Linked DNA regions of Homo sapiens: all the other regions are linked to region 1. Evidence: promoter capture Hi-C in 16 types of primary human blood cells and fetal thymus (Javierre and others, 2016). All regions are on one chromosome and are shown on one strand. Each heading gives the region's core, a stretch centred on a gene start or on the middle of the fragment in contact. The rest is flanking DNA. Distances are from core to core; before and after follow the strand shown. Region 1 holds the start of CACNG6 (calcium voltage-gated channel auxiliary subunit gamma 6). Region 2 overlaps NLRP12 (NLR family pyrin domain containing 12). Region 3 has its middle 2.6 kb from the start of MIR373.

Evidence for each region. Contacts are between HindIII fragments. The CHiCAGO score rates a contact against its expected background, and 5 or more counts as called.
Region 2: a contact is called between a fragment that was not itself captured here and the fragment with the promoter of CACNG6 in region 1, in 1 of 17 cell types (erythroblasts). The highest score is 5.0, in erythroblasts.
Region 3: a contact is called between a fragment that was not itself captured here and the fragment with the promoter of CACNG6 in region 1, in 13 of 17 cell types (M1 macrophages, M0 macrophages, M2 macrophages and 10 more). The highest score is 12.1, in M1 macrophages.

The regions. Positions count from the first base shown.
Region 1 is chr19:53,988,901-53,993,062 of GRCh38, forward strand. It overlaps CACNG6 (calcium voltage-gated channel auxiliary subunit gamma 6), which reads left to right and starts at 2,737. Exons shown (of 4, transcript NM_145814.2): 1 at 2,737-4,162. The coding sequence starts at 3,978. It overlaps CACNG8 (calcium voltage-gated channel auxiliary subunit gamma 8), which reads left to right. Exons shown (of 4, transcript NM_031895.6): 4 at 1-1,315. The HindIII fragment of the contact is 26,668 bases long and covers 1-4,162 here.
Region 2 is chr19:53,815,127-53,818,871 of GRCh38, forward strand. All of the region lies in intron 1 of NLRP12 (NLR family pyrin domain containing 12), which reads right to left. Among named protein-coding and RNA genes, the nearest start is that of NLRP12, 7.3 kb to the right of the region's middle. The HindIII fragment of the contact is 7,313 bases long and covers 1-3,745 here.
Region 3 is chr19:53,789,283-53,793,315 of GRCh38, forward strand. No RefSeq gene overlaps it. Among named protein-coding and RNA genes, the nearest start is that of MIR373, 2.6 kb to the left of the region's middle. RefSeq lists enhancers at 2,864-3,364, 3,365-3,865. The HindIII fragment of the contact is 229 bases long and covers 1,654-1,882 here.

The DNA.
Region 1 (4,162 bases), core at 1,487-3,986:
GACCTATTGAGGTGAAGGGGAAGAACACGTTTTCATCATTCATTTTCAGAAATAAACATTCACTCAGTTCTTGGAAATACTTTCTGGCCAGGCTTGGGGGCTCATGCCTGTAATCCCAGCACTCTGGGAGGCCAAGACAGGAGGATTGCTTGAGGCTTGGCGTTTGAGACCAGCCTGGGCAATATAGTAAGACCCCGTCTCTACAAAAATGAAAAATGAGCTGTGGCGTGGTGGCTCACGCCTGTAGTCCTAGATACTCGGGAGGCTGAGGCGGGAGGATTGCTTGAGTCCAGGAGTTTAAGGTTGCAGTGAGCTATGATTGCACCATTGCACTTCAGGCTGGGCCACAGAGCAAGACCCTGTCTCAGAAAACAGAAAGAAAGAAAGTCAAAGAAATAAAGTCAAAGACAAGAAGGTGATACAGAGAAGACAGAAAAGGAGGAGGAGAGAGACTGACAGGTACACAAATCAGAGAAGTCCCAGAGATAACAAAAACACAACCACAGAGATAGGGAGACGTAAGCCGGAGAAAGACCCAGAGATTCGCATAGAAAGCAACGTGGAGACTCAGAAGCAAGCACAGCATCAAGGAATGATCAATAAAAAGAAAAAAAAATATTTCCTGAGGACTTCCAAGTACAAGGCCCTGCAATCTCAGGCCACTTCTGTCCCATCTCTGCCTTCAGAGGGGGGGACAGGTAGTCCAGACAATTAGAATACAGAGGGGGCTGTGTTCTGACGGGGCCACGCGGGCATTGAGGAAACGCAGCAGGCCCCTCCCCTAGCTGGGGCGGGGATGTCTGTGTGCCATCATCTCACTCCATCTGGTCATTCCTTTGCCCATTCATCCATCCATTCATTCAAGTCACCCCATGCACATTTTCCAAGACTGCCTGTGACCTGGCCCTGTGCCGGGTAGAGCTGAGGATGCCAAGGTGAATTCCTCCTGTGCCTGGCCCCGGCCCCAGTCTGCTGGAAGAACCAGACACAGACAATCACACTGCGGGGAAACACGTGCTCCATCGGAAAAGTCCAGAGCAGGGGGTGGGCAGAGAGGCCCAGCGTGCACCAGAGCCTCGCTCAGGTCAGCGCCAGGCCTGCCTGGAGCAGCCAACTGTGGGAGAAGAAGGAGTTGGTGAAAGGTGGGTCCCACCTGGGCCGTCCACAGAAGGGCTGAGGGGTAGGGGGTGAGGGGTTGAAGATCAGGCCCTGCCGCCATGCCACACGGCTGTCCTCTGTCCCTGCTCCTGGGGGAGCTGAAACTGCATGGAAGGTCCCCCAGGGGTGCCCCGTCTAATAAACTCGATGAAGAGGAGTGCTGCTTTCATTCTGTGCCCCTGACAGCCGGCCCTGCCCTGAGGCCTGCGCTTTCTCCAACATGGAAATCAGGCCTTCCATCCTTCAAGACCCAGGGTTCTGGCCCCAGTCTCCTCCCTGAGGCCCAGGACTCTGGGTCTGCCAACGCCTTGACCAGGAGTCCAGGCTCCCCGGCCCTCCTCCTCCCTCAGACCCAGGAGTCCAGGCCCAGCCCCTCCTCCCTCAGATCCAGGAGTCCAGGCCCCCTGCCCCCTCCTCCCTCAGACCCAGGAGTCCAGGCCCAGGCCTTCCTCCCTCAGACCCAGGAGCCCAGGCCCCCAGCCCCTCCTCCCTCAGACCCAGGAGCCCAGGCCCCCAGCCCCTCCTCCCTCAGACCCAGGAGCCCAGGCCCCCAGCCCCTCCTCCCTCAGACCCAGGAGTCCAGGCCCCCAGCCCCTCCTCCTTCAGACCCAGGAGTTCAGGCCCCAGTCCCTCCTCCCTCAGACCCAGAAGTCCAGGCCCCCAGCCCCTCCTCCCTCAGACTCAGGAGCCCAGGCCCCCAGCCCCTCCTCCCTCAGACCCAGGAGTCCAGGCCCCAGCCCCTCCTCCCTCAGACCCAGGAGTCCAGACCCCCAGCCCCTCCTCCCTCAGACCCAGGAGCCCAGGCCCCCAACCCCTCCTCCCTCAGACCCAGGAGTCCAGGCCCCCAGCCCCTCCTCCCTCAGACCCAGGAGTCCAGGCCCCCAGCCCCTCCTCCTTCAGACCCAGGAGTTCAGGCCCCAGTCCCTCCTCCCTCAGACCCAGAAGTCCAGGCCCCAGTCCCTCCTCCCTCAGACTCAGGAGCCCAGGCCCAGCCCCTCCTCCCTCAGACCCAGGAGTCCAGACCCCAGCCCCTCCTCCCTCAGACCCAGGAGTTCAGGCCCCCAGCCCCTCCTCCCTCAGACTCAGGAGCCCAGGACCTAGGAGACCAGGTTCCTCTCCTCTCAGATCCAAGATTCTGGGTACCCAGGCCTTCTTCCTCTACCACTCAGAAGTGGGGTACCGAGGCTTCTTCTCCCTTAGGGACCCAAGACTCCTGGCCTCAGGCCCTCCTCCCTGAGACCCGGGGCCCTGCCTCCCGCCCCTCCTCCCTGGTAACCCCAGTCAGACTTGCTGCCCCGCCCGTCTCCTGCTGCCCGGGAGACTGCGGAGCTGGGACTCTCGGCGCCGCTCTTGCCCCTTAGTGAAATGAAAGTCCCATCAGGCTCGGCCCCTTCCTCCCCGGGCGGCCTCCCTCCCCCCTTCCTCGTCCCCTTAAAACACCCGGGATCCCTATGGCAACAGGCGCCGGGCGACAGGTGCGGGTGTTATTTACGGGTCAAGCCCGAAATAGCCCCGAGGGTGGAGGGTGGAGGGTGGGGGGTGGGCGGGTGGGGACGAGGCCGGGCGCGGGCGGAGGCCAGGCCGGTGGCGGTGGCGGGCACAGCCGGACGCTTCGGAGGCAGCGCGGAGCTGGGGTCGGCGCGGGGCCGAGGCAGGAGAGCGAGAGGGGCCCCTGCTCGGGAGTCGGGGGTGGGAGCCCCGAGGGGGGGCCCTGGCCTGGGGCTGAGCCTGGCGCGAACCCGACCGGGAAGGCCCTGGGAGCCCGGGGGAGGGAGACGGACTGATCCCGAAGGGGCGCAGCGTCTCTTGCGGGTCGCGGTTGGCCTTTGAACCCTGGGGGGACTCAGTCCTGGTTTTCCGAGCCGCAGTGCGGACCACAGCCCCATAGTGTGAGCCCCAGGAGGGCCCCCGGTCCCATCTGCCCCAGCCCTCGGGGAGGCCCCGTAGCCTCCCGCCTCTGGACTCCACTCTGTCTTCCGGCCACCGGCCCCTTTTCCAGGCTCAGTAGAGACCTCGGATCTTTTCTGAATGGCAGGGGAGACCCCTATCCCCTTTTCCTGAATTCCAGCGAGGCCCAGTCCTCTTCTGAGCCCCAGCCAGGGCTCTGTTCTTCTCCTTCTGTGGATGCCGGGGTCCTACTGCCTCTCTTGAGACCCGGATTGAATTCCGACCTCCCCTTGGGAGCTTCCCGGGACCCCAGGTCTTCCTTTTCCGAATCCCAGAGGGTCCCCAAGTCCTCTGTTCTCAAACTCTGAGCCCAAGGGAACCCCGGCCACATCTCCTCCAAACACACACAGGACCTCAGGTCCCTTCCTGGGTACCCCAAACTCTTAGCCCTAGTGGGGTGCTCAGATCTCTCAGGAAAACCAGTTTCCCTTTTGTTAACCCCCCAGCGGGGACCCCAAAGCAGCCCCTTGGAGCTGCAGGGAGCTTCAGCGGGCACCAGTTCTCATTCCTCTGGAGCTCTTGGGGGGACTCCCTCCTGGGAAGCCGAATTCTATCTCTAAACCTCAGGGTGGGGGCCTTGTTTTTCCTCTGGGCCCCGTCTTCTTTGCCAAGTTCTTGAGGGCAACCTAGACCCTCCTCTGAACCCCAGAGGCTTCCCCAGCCCTGGGGATCATTTTTCTCTTCTGAACCCCAGAAGCAATCTCGACTTTCGCATTTGAGATTCCAGACAGGACTCGGCTCTCCCTCTTTCATACCCAGGGGAAACTGAGTCCCTCACCCCCTTCAAGACCCCAGGCCGCTCCTCGCTCCCGCCCCTCGAGGCCCTTCGCCGGCTCTGCCTCCTCCCCCTTCCCGACCCCACCGGCCATAAGATGATGTGGTCCAACTTCTTCCTGCAAGAGGAGAACCGGCGGCGGGGGGCCGCGGGCCGGCGGCGGGCGCACGGGCAGGGCAGGTCGGGGCTGACGCCCGAGCGCGAGGGGAAGGTGAAGCTGGCGCTGCTGCTGGCCGCCGTGGGCGCCACGCTGGCGGTGCTGTCCGTGGGCACCGAGTTCTG
Region 2 (3,745 bases), core at 1-2,500, 180 kb before region 1:
GCCGTGTGTGGGAAATAGCTCATCCCTTGTTCCTTGTAGCGCACCCTCCTCCCTGGGTCCCCCTCATGGTCATTGGCACCTCCATCCATCCAATCAGTCTTTTTTTTTTTTTTTTTTTTTGAGACGGAGTCTTGCTCTGTTGCCCAGGCTGGAATGCAGTGGCATGATCTCGGCTCACCACAACCTCCACCTCCTGAATTCAAGCGATTCTCCTGCCTCAGCCTCACGAGTAGCTGGCATTACAGGTGTGCGCCACAATGCCTGGCTAATTTTTGTATTTTTAGTAGAGACGGGGTTTCACTATGTTGGCCAGGCTGGTCTTGAACTCCTGACCTTGTGATCCACCTGCCTTGGCCTCCCAAAGTGCTGGGTTTACAGATGTGAGCCACTGCACCTGGCACCAACCAATCTTTTTGACTGGGAAGTTCTGAGTCAGTCTGGACTCCTCCCTTGTCAGCTCTGGGCCACATCTCATCCATTATCTTTTCTTTTTTCTTTTCGAGACGGAGTCTGGCTCTGTTGCCCAGGCTGGAGTGCAGTGGCACAATCTTGGCTCACTGCAACCTCTGCCTCCCGGGTTCAAGTGATTCTCCTGCCTCAGCCTCCTGAGTAGCTGGGACTACAGGCATGTGTCACCACGCCCGGATAATTTATTTTGTATTTTTAGTAGAGACAGGGTTTCACCATGTGGGTCAGGCTGGTCTTGAACTCCTGACCTCGTGATCCACCCAACTCGGCCTCCCAAAGTGCTGGGATTACAGGCGTGAGCCACTGCGCCTGGCGACTCTGTCTCTTAAAAATATTTTAATTTTTTTTTTTTTTTTTGGTAGAGATTAGGTCTCAGTATGTTACCCAGGCTGGTCTGGAACTCCTAGCTTCAAGCAGTCTTTCGACCTTGGCCTCTTGAAGTGTTGGAAATAGTGGTATGGGCCATCGTGCCCAGCCCAAAAAAGGCCTTCGTTTGGATATATCATAAGATTCTACACATCGAGTCCTTCCTTGGCATCTTTGGTCCTCAGAAGGCCCCCCAAAGTCCTAAGTGTGAGTTCCTTTGCTCTCACTCCATGAGAAAGTCTTCCCACCTGGCTAGTTCTCCCATCAGCTGAGCCAGCGGCACCCCATCTGGTCCTCACTCTGATAAGTTTTCACCTCCCTGCTGGTTGCTAGTCCATGAAATGATTCATGAAAGCAAAGAACATCCTTTTGAAGGAGCCAGGAGGCACCCCACCCTCTTGTTACTACACAGCCCGCCCCCCCCAACAGTCTCTGTAGCTTCATGTGACCCTCTTGGCATATGGGGACACCTTCCCTGTGAGTCTGTGTGACTAATAAACTGTTGTCTTTCCTCTGTTCAGTGCTGGCTCTGGTAGATTCAGTCATCTGGCACCATTTTATTTATTTATTTTTATTTATTTGAGACAGTCTCGCTCTGTCGCCCAGGCTGGAGTGCAGTGGCGCGATCTCGGCTCACTACAATCTTCACCTCCCAGGTTTAAGTGATTCTCCTGCCTCAGTCTCCCGAGTAGCTGGGACTACAGGCACCCATGACCACGCAGGTGGTGGTAAAAATACAAAAAAATAATTTTTGTATTTTTAGTAGAGATGCGGTTTGACCATGTTGGCCAGGCTGGTCTTGAACTCCTGACCTCAGGTGATCTGCCTGCCTCGGCCTCCCAAAGTGCTGGGATTACAGGCGTGAGCTACTGCACCCGGCCACTCAAAAATTTTTAATTGGAGAAGGTTATCATTGAGAGGAAAGGGGAAAATAGGGAATTGTTTAATGGGTATCGAGTTTGTTTTGCAAGATGAAGAGTTCTGCAGATTGAATGCACATCAGTGTAAATGTACAACACTCAGCAGCACACTTAAAAATGGTTAAGAGGGCCAGGGCGCGGTGGCTCACGCCTGTAATCCCAGCACTTTGGGAGGCCAAGGCGGGTGGATCACAAGGTCAGGAGATCGAGACCATCCTGGGTAACACGGTGAAACCCCGTCTCTACTAAAAATACAAAAAAAAATTAGCTGGGCATGGTGGCAGGCACCTGTAGTCCCAGCAATTTGGGAGGCCGAGGCAGGTGGGATTACCTGATGTCAGGAGTTCAAGACTAGCCTTACCAACGTGGTGAAACCTTGTCTCTATTAAAAATACAAAAATGAGCCAGGCATGGTGGCGCGTGCCTGTAATCCCAGCTACTCGGGAGGCTGAGGCAGGAGAATCGCTTGAACCAGGGAGTCAGAGGTTGAAGTGTGCTGACATCGCATCATTGCACTCCAGCCTGGTGACGGAGCGAGACTCCATCTCAAGAAAGAAAAAGTGGTTAAGAGGAGGCTGGGCGCGGTGGCTCATGCCTGTAATCCCTGCACTTTGGGAGGCCAAGGTGGGTGGATTACCTGAGGTCAGGAGTTCAAGACCAGTCTGACCAACATGGAGAAACCCCATCTCTACTAAAAATACAAAAATTAGCTGGGCGTGGTGGCAGATGCCTGTAATCCCAGCTACTTGGGAGGCTGAGGCAGGATAATTGCTTGAACCCATGAGGCAGAGGTTGCAGTGAGCCGAGATCGCGCCACTGCACTCCAGCCTAGGCAACAAGAGTGAAATTCCATCTCAAAGAAAAAAAGAAAAAGAGGGCAAATTTCATGTTTTGTGTATTTTAGCACTATTTATTTATTTATTTATTTATGAGACAGAGTCTCACTGTGTCGTCCAGGCTGGTGTGATGTTGGCTCACTGCAACCTCTGCCTCCAGGGTTCAAGTGATTCTCCTGCCTCAGCCTCCGGAGTAGCTGGGATTACAGGCATGTACAACCACGACCAGCTAATTTTTGTATTTTTAGTAGAGACAGGGTTTCACCATGTTGGCCAGGCTGTTGTCAAATTCCTAGTCTCAAGTGATTCACGTGCCTCAGCCTCCAACATGCTGGGATTACAGGCATGAGCCACTGCAGCTGGTTGGCAATTTTTTTTTTTTTTTGAGAGAGGGTCTTGCTCTGTTGCTCAGGCTGGAGTAGTGTGGCATGATCTTGGCTCACTGCAGCCTTCACCTCCTGGGCTTAAGTGATCCTCCCATCTCAGCCTCCCAGGTAGCTGGGTCTGCAGGCATGCACCACTGTGCCTGGTCAATTTTGTAGAGAAGGGGTTTTGCCATGTTGCCTAGACCAGTCTCAAACTTCTGGGCTCAAGTGATCTGCCTGCCTCAGCCTCCCAAAGTGCTGGGATTATAGGTGTGGCCACATTTTTTTTTTTTAAAGGTAATCCAGGCCAGCGCGGTGGCTCACGCCTGTAATCCCAACATTTTGGGAGGCTGAGGTGGGTGGATCATGAGGTCAGGAGATTGAGACCATCCTGGCTAATATGGTGAAACCCCATCTCTACTATAAATACGAAATTAGCCGGGCGTGGTGGCGGGTGCCTGTAGTCCCAGGTACTCGGGAGGCTGAGGCAGGAGAATCGCTTGAACCCGGGAGGCGGAGGTTGCAGTGAGCCGAGAACGCACCACTGCACTCCGGCCTGGGTGACAGAGTGAGACTCCGTCTCAAAAAAATAAATAAATAAAAATAAAAAAGGTAATTCTTGAAAATTGCAGCTGAAAAAGGCCTCAGAGATGTTCTCCCTCAGTGTTTCCTAGGCATGCCGCGAGAACCAGCCACATCAAAATGCAGATTCCTGTTGCCTAAGACCTGCTGATTCAGAATCACGGGTTGAGGGTCTTGGATTCCCCATTGGCCACAAGTGTCTCGAGAG
Region 3 (4,033 bases), core at 518-3,017, 200 kb before region 1:
AAAAATACTTGTCAGTATTTTGTGCTTCCCTTCTACCCCTGCTAGAACTTAGAGTTATGCTCTTTGAGAGTTCTGCTCTTTAAACTTCAAACAAGTTTAAAAAGTAAGGCCGGGCACAGTGGCAGCACTGCCGAGGCCGACGCAGGCTGATCATGAGGTCAGATCAAGACCATCCTGGCTCACACGGTGAAACCACATCTCTACTAAAAAATACAAAAACATTAGCCGGGCATGGCGGTGGGTGCCTGTAGTCACAGGCTGAGGCAGAAAGGGCATGAACCCGGGAGGTGGAGCTTGCAGCCAGCCGAGGTTGTGCCACTGCACTCCAGCCTGGGTGACAGCGATAACTGTCTCAAAAAATAAAAACCACCCAGGCTGAAGTGTGGTGGCACCATCACAGCTCCCTGCAGGCCTGAGCTCCCTAGATCAAAAGATCTTCCCATATAAGCCCCCCCTCACCCCACCCTTAGTAGCTGGCACCACAGGAGTGTCCCCGCCATGCTCCACTAATGTTTAGTAGAAATTGGGGTCTCATACATTGGCCAGCTTGGTCTGAAACTTAGGGGGAATCAAACATCCCTCCTTTAGTAGAGATGGGGCTTTACTGTCTTGCCCTGGGTGGCCTCCCTGGGATGATGGGTGTGAGCCACAGTGCCAGGCCTAAGTTCATATTTGGAAGGTTTTTTTGCTTCAGATGGTCTCGTGCTCTCGCTCAGGTTGGAGCGCAATGGCGCAATCTTGGTTCACTGCAACCTCTGCCAGCTTAAGCGATTCTCCTGCCCCCGCCTCCCAAGTAGCTGGGATTACAGGCATAAGCCACCACGCCTGGCTAATTTTTTGCATTTTTTAGAGATGGGATTTCTCCACGTTGGCCAGGCTGCTCTGGAACTCCTGACCCCAGGTGATCCACCCACCTCGGCCTCCCAAAGTGCTGGGATTATAGGCGTGAGCCACCACGTGGGGCCTTCAGTAGGTTCTTAGTTGCTGTTTGCCCTATCACTGGTTTCCGGGTCTGCTGGCCACTATCCCCTGTAAGTTTTCCTATCCCCTGTAGGTGTTCCAAACCCTTGCGGCTGCTTTGCCCACTCCACAGTATCTGAACTGAAGTAAGATCTCAAATTCAAGGGAGTTTTGTTTTGCTATTTGTACCCGCAATTCATAAAGCAGTTGTAGCCTCTGTCCCAATACCGCCACCACTGGTGGGGAGTCCGCCACGGTAACCAGTAAGACTTCTCTTTATATTTGACCTACCTGGGCCTCCTGTCATCTTTTCTACGGGCAGCTTGGGGATTGTTAGTTGAGGGTTTTTTGTTTTTGTGTTTTTTTTTTTGTTTTTTTTTTTTTTTAAAGAGATGGAGTCTCGCTCTGTCGCCAGACTGGAGTACAATGGCATGATCTTGGCTCACTGCAACTTCCACCTCCCAGGTTCAAGCGATTCTTTTGCCTCAGCCTCCCGAGTAGCTGGTATTATAGGCACCCACCACCATGCCCAGCTAATTTTTTTTGGATTTTTAGTACAGATGGCGTTTCCCCATGTTGGCCGGGCTGGTCTCACTAAACTCCTGACCTCAAGTGATCCACCCACCTTGGCCTCCCAAAATTCTGAGATTACAGGTTTGAGCCACTGCGCCCAGCCTTTAGTTGAGTTTCTTAAGCTTGTTTAGGGTTTAGCCTGTATGGCCAGCAGGGTGTAGGTGGGGGTGGTTTGTAAGCAGGGCTGTTTGCTTCAGAAGCAGCTGTGGAAACAGGACTGAATGCAGACATATAAAGAATATTGGGTAAATAACTTTTTAAAAAATTTAGAGATAGGATCCCACTATGTTGCCCAATCTGGTCTTGAAACCTAAACAATCTCTTATCCCAAAGTGCTGGGATTGCAGAAAGCTTAAGGCACAGTTTTACGTGGTAATGGTGGGCCATTTTTAGTTTCTTTTTTGTAGACGATCATGTCATCTAGGCTGGAATGTAGCGGTTCTGTCGAGCTAGGTGTAGCCTCCACTTCCTGGACTCAAGCATTTTTCCTCAGCTTCAGTAGCTGGGTCTATGCATGAATACCCCTTCTGGGGTAGATAGATAGTAGTACATAGAGTAGATAATTTTTTTGTGTTCAGGCGGCACCTTAAGGTTGGTGTAAAAATTCTTGGCCTTCTAAAGAGCTGGAATTAGACATGAGCTGTTGCACCTGGCCAATGGGACAATTATGTCTACAGGACTGAATCAGTATCTGATCTCTGGAGTTGTAAGGTCACTTTTTCTGAAACTGCCTCAGTCTCCTTGCAGGTTCTGGTCTGTAGATCTCCAGTGTGTGGGCTGAGCACAGCATGGGGACCTGATTTCCCACCGGGCAGTGACATAGTTTAAAGATTCTTAGTTCGAATTCCTAATAATGGGAATATAGGTTTCTGTGTATTGAAATGGGAATATGCATTTTTTTTTTTTTTAGAGTCTTGCTCTGTCACTAGGCTGGAGTGCAGTGGCACAATCTCGGCTCACTGCAACCTCCGCCTCCTGGGTTCAAGTGGTTCCCCTGCCTCAGCCTCCTGAGTAGCTGGGACTACAGGCGCCCTCCACCACGCCCTGCTAATTTTTTGTATTTTAGTAGAGACGGGGTTTCACCATGTTGGCCAGGATGGTCTTGATCTCCTCACCTTGTGATCCACCCGCCTTGGCCTCCCAAAGTGCTGGGATTACAAGCGTGAGCCTCTGCACCCAGCCAAGGGAATATGGATTCCTCTTTTTTTTTTTTTTTTTTTTTTTTTTGAGACGGCGTCTCTATCACCCAGGCTGGAGTGCAATGGCGTGATCTCTGCTCACTGCAACCTCTGTCTCCCGGGTTCAAGTGATTCTCCTGCCTCAGCCTCCCGAGTAGCTGGGATTACCCGCATGTGCTATCACGCCTGGTTAATTCTATATTTTTATTAGAGACAGGGTTTCTCCATGTTGGTCAGGCTGGTCTTGAACTCCCGACCTCAGGTGATCTGCCCTCCTTGGCCTCCCAAAGTGCTGGGATTACAGGTGTGAGCCACCACACCCTTTTTTTTTTTTTTTTTTTAAGATGGAGTCTCGCTCTGTCGCCCAGGCTGGAGTGCAGTAGTGCGATCTCGGTTCACTGCAACCTCTGCCTCCCAGGTGCAAGCGATTCTCCCGCCTCAGCCTCCCCAGCAGCTGGGACTATAGGTGCATGCCACCACACCCAGCTAATTTTTTGTATTTTTAGTAGAGATGGGGTTTCACTGTGTTAGCCAGGATGGTATTGATCTCTTGACCTAGTGATCCGCCCGCTTCGGCCTCCAAAGTGCTGGGATTACAGGCATGAGCCACCGTGCCCAGCCTAATTTTTGTATTTTTAGTAGGTTTCACCATGTTGGCCAGGCTGGTCTCGAACTCCTAACCTCAGCTGATCTGCCTGCCTTGGCCTCCGAAAGTATTTGGATTACAGGCATGAGTCACCGCATCTGGCGGTATTTTTGTTGAAAGCACAGTGTATAATAGGTTATGGCCAGCCTACACGTGGCCTTGTAGGTGTCAGTTCTTGGCAGGGCCCAGTGAATTCCAGGCAGGGGGCCATCCTGACATGCCTGCCACGTTAAGATTTCAGACATTATCCCCTCCAGCAAGGGAGGATCAGGGCTGTTGGCATAACAAGCATTCTGAGGGTTAGCTTGCATACCAGTCTCTTCCCAAATGCTGAGTTGCCCCATGTATCCTGTGACATTTGAGAATAGGCTTTCCTCAACTTGGCACAATTTGCCTTTGGACCAAGTGCTTTGTCCTGTGCATTCCTTGCTGGATGTTGGCATGCATTCCTAGTGTCGTCCACTAGATGGCAGTGGCACCCACCCCAGAGCTCAAATATTACTATGTTCCGATGCAGCCAGGGCTTGGCAGGGCTGGGTGGCCTCTGAGGGCCCCTACTGGCCATTTTTCACCGTCTCCCTCTGTTGCCCAGGCTGGGGCGCAGTGATGCAATGACAGCTCACTGCAGCCTCGACCTCCTGGGCTCAAGCGATCTTCCCACCTCAGTCCCCAGAGT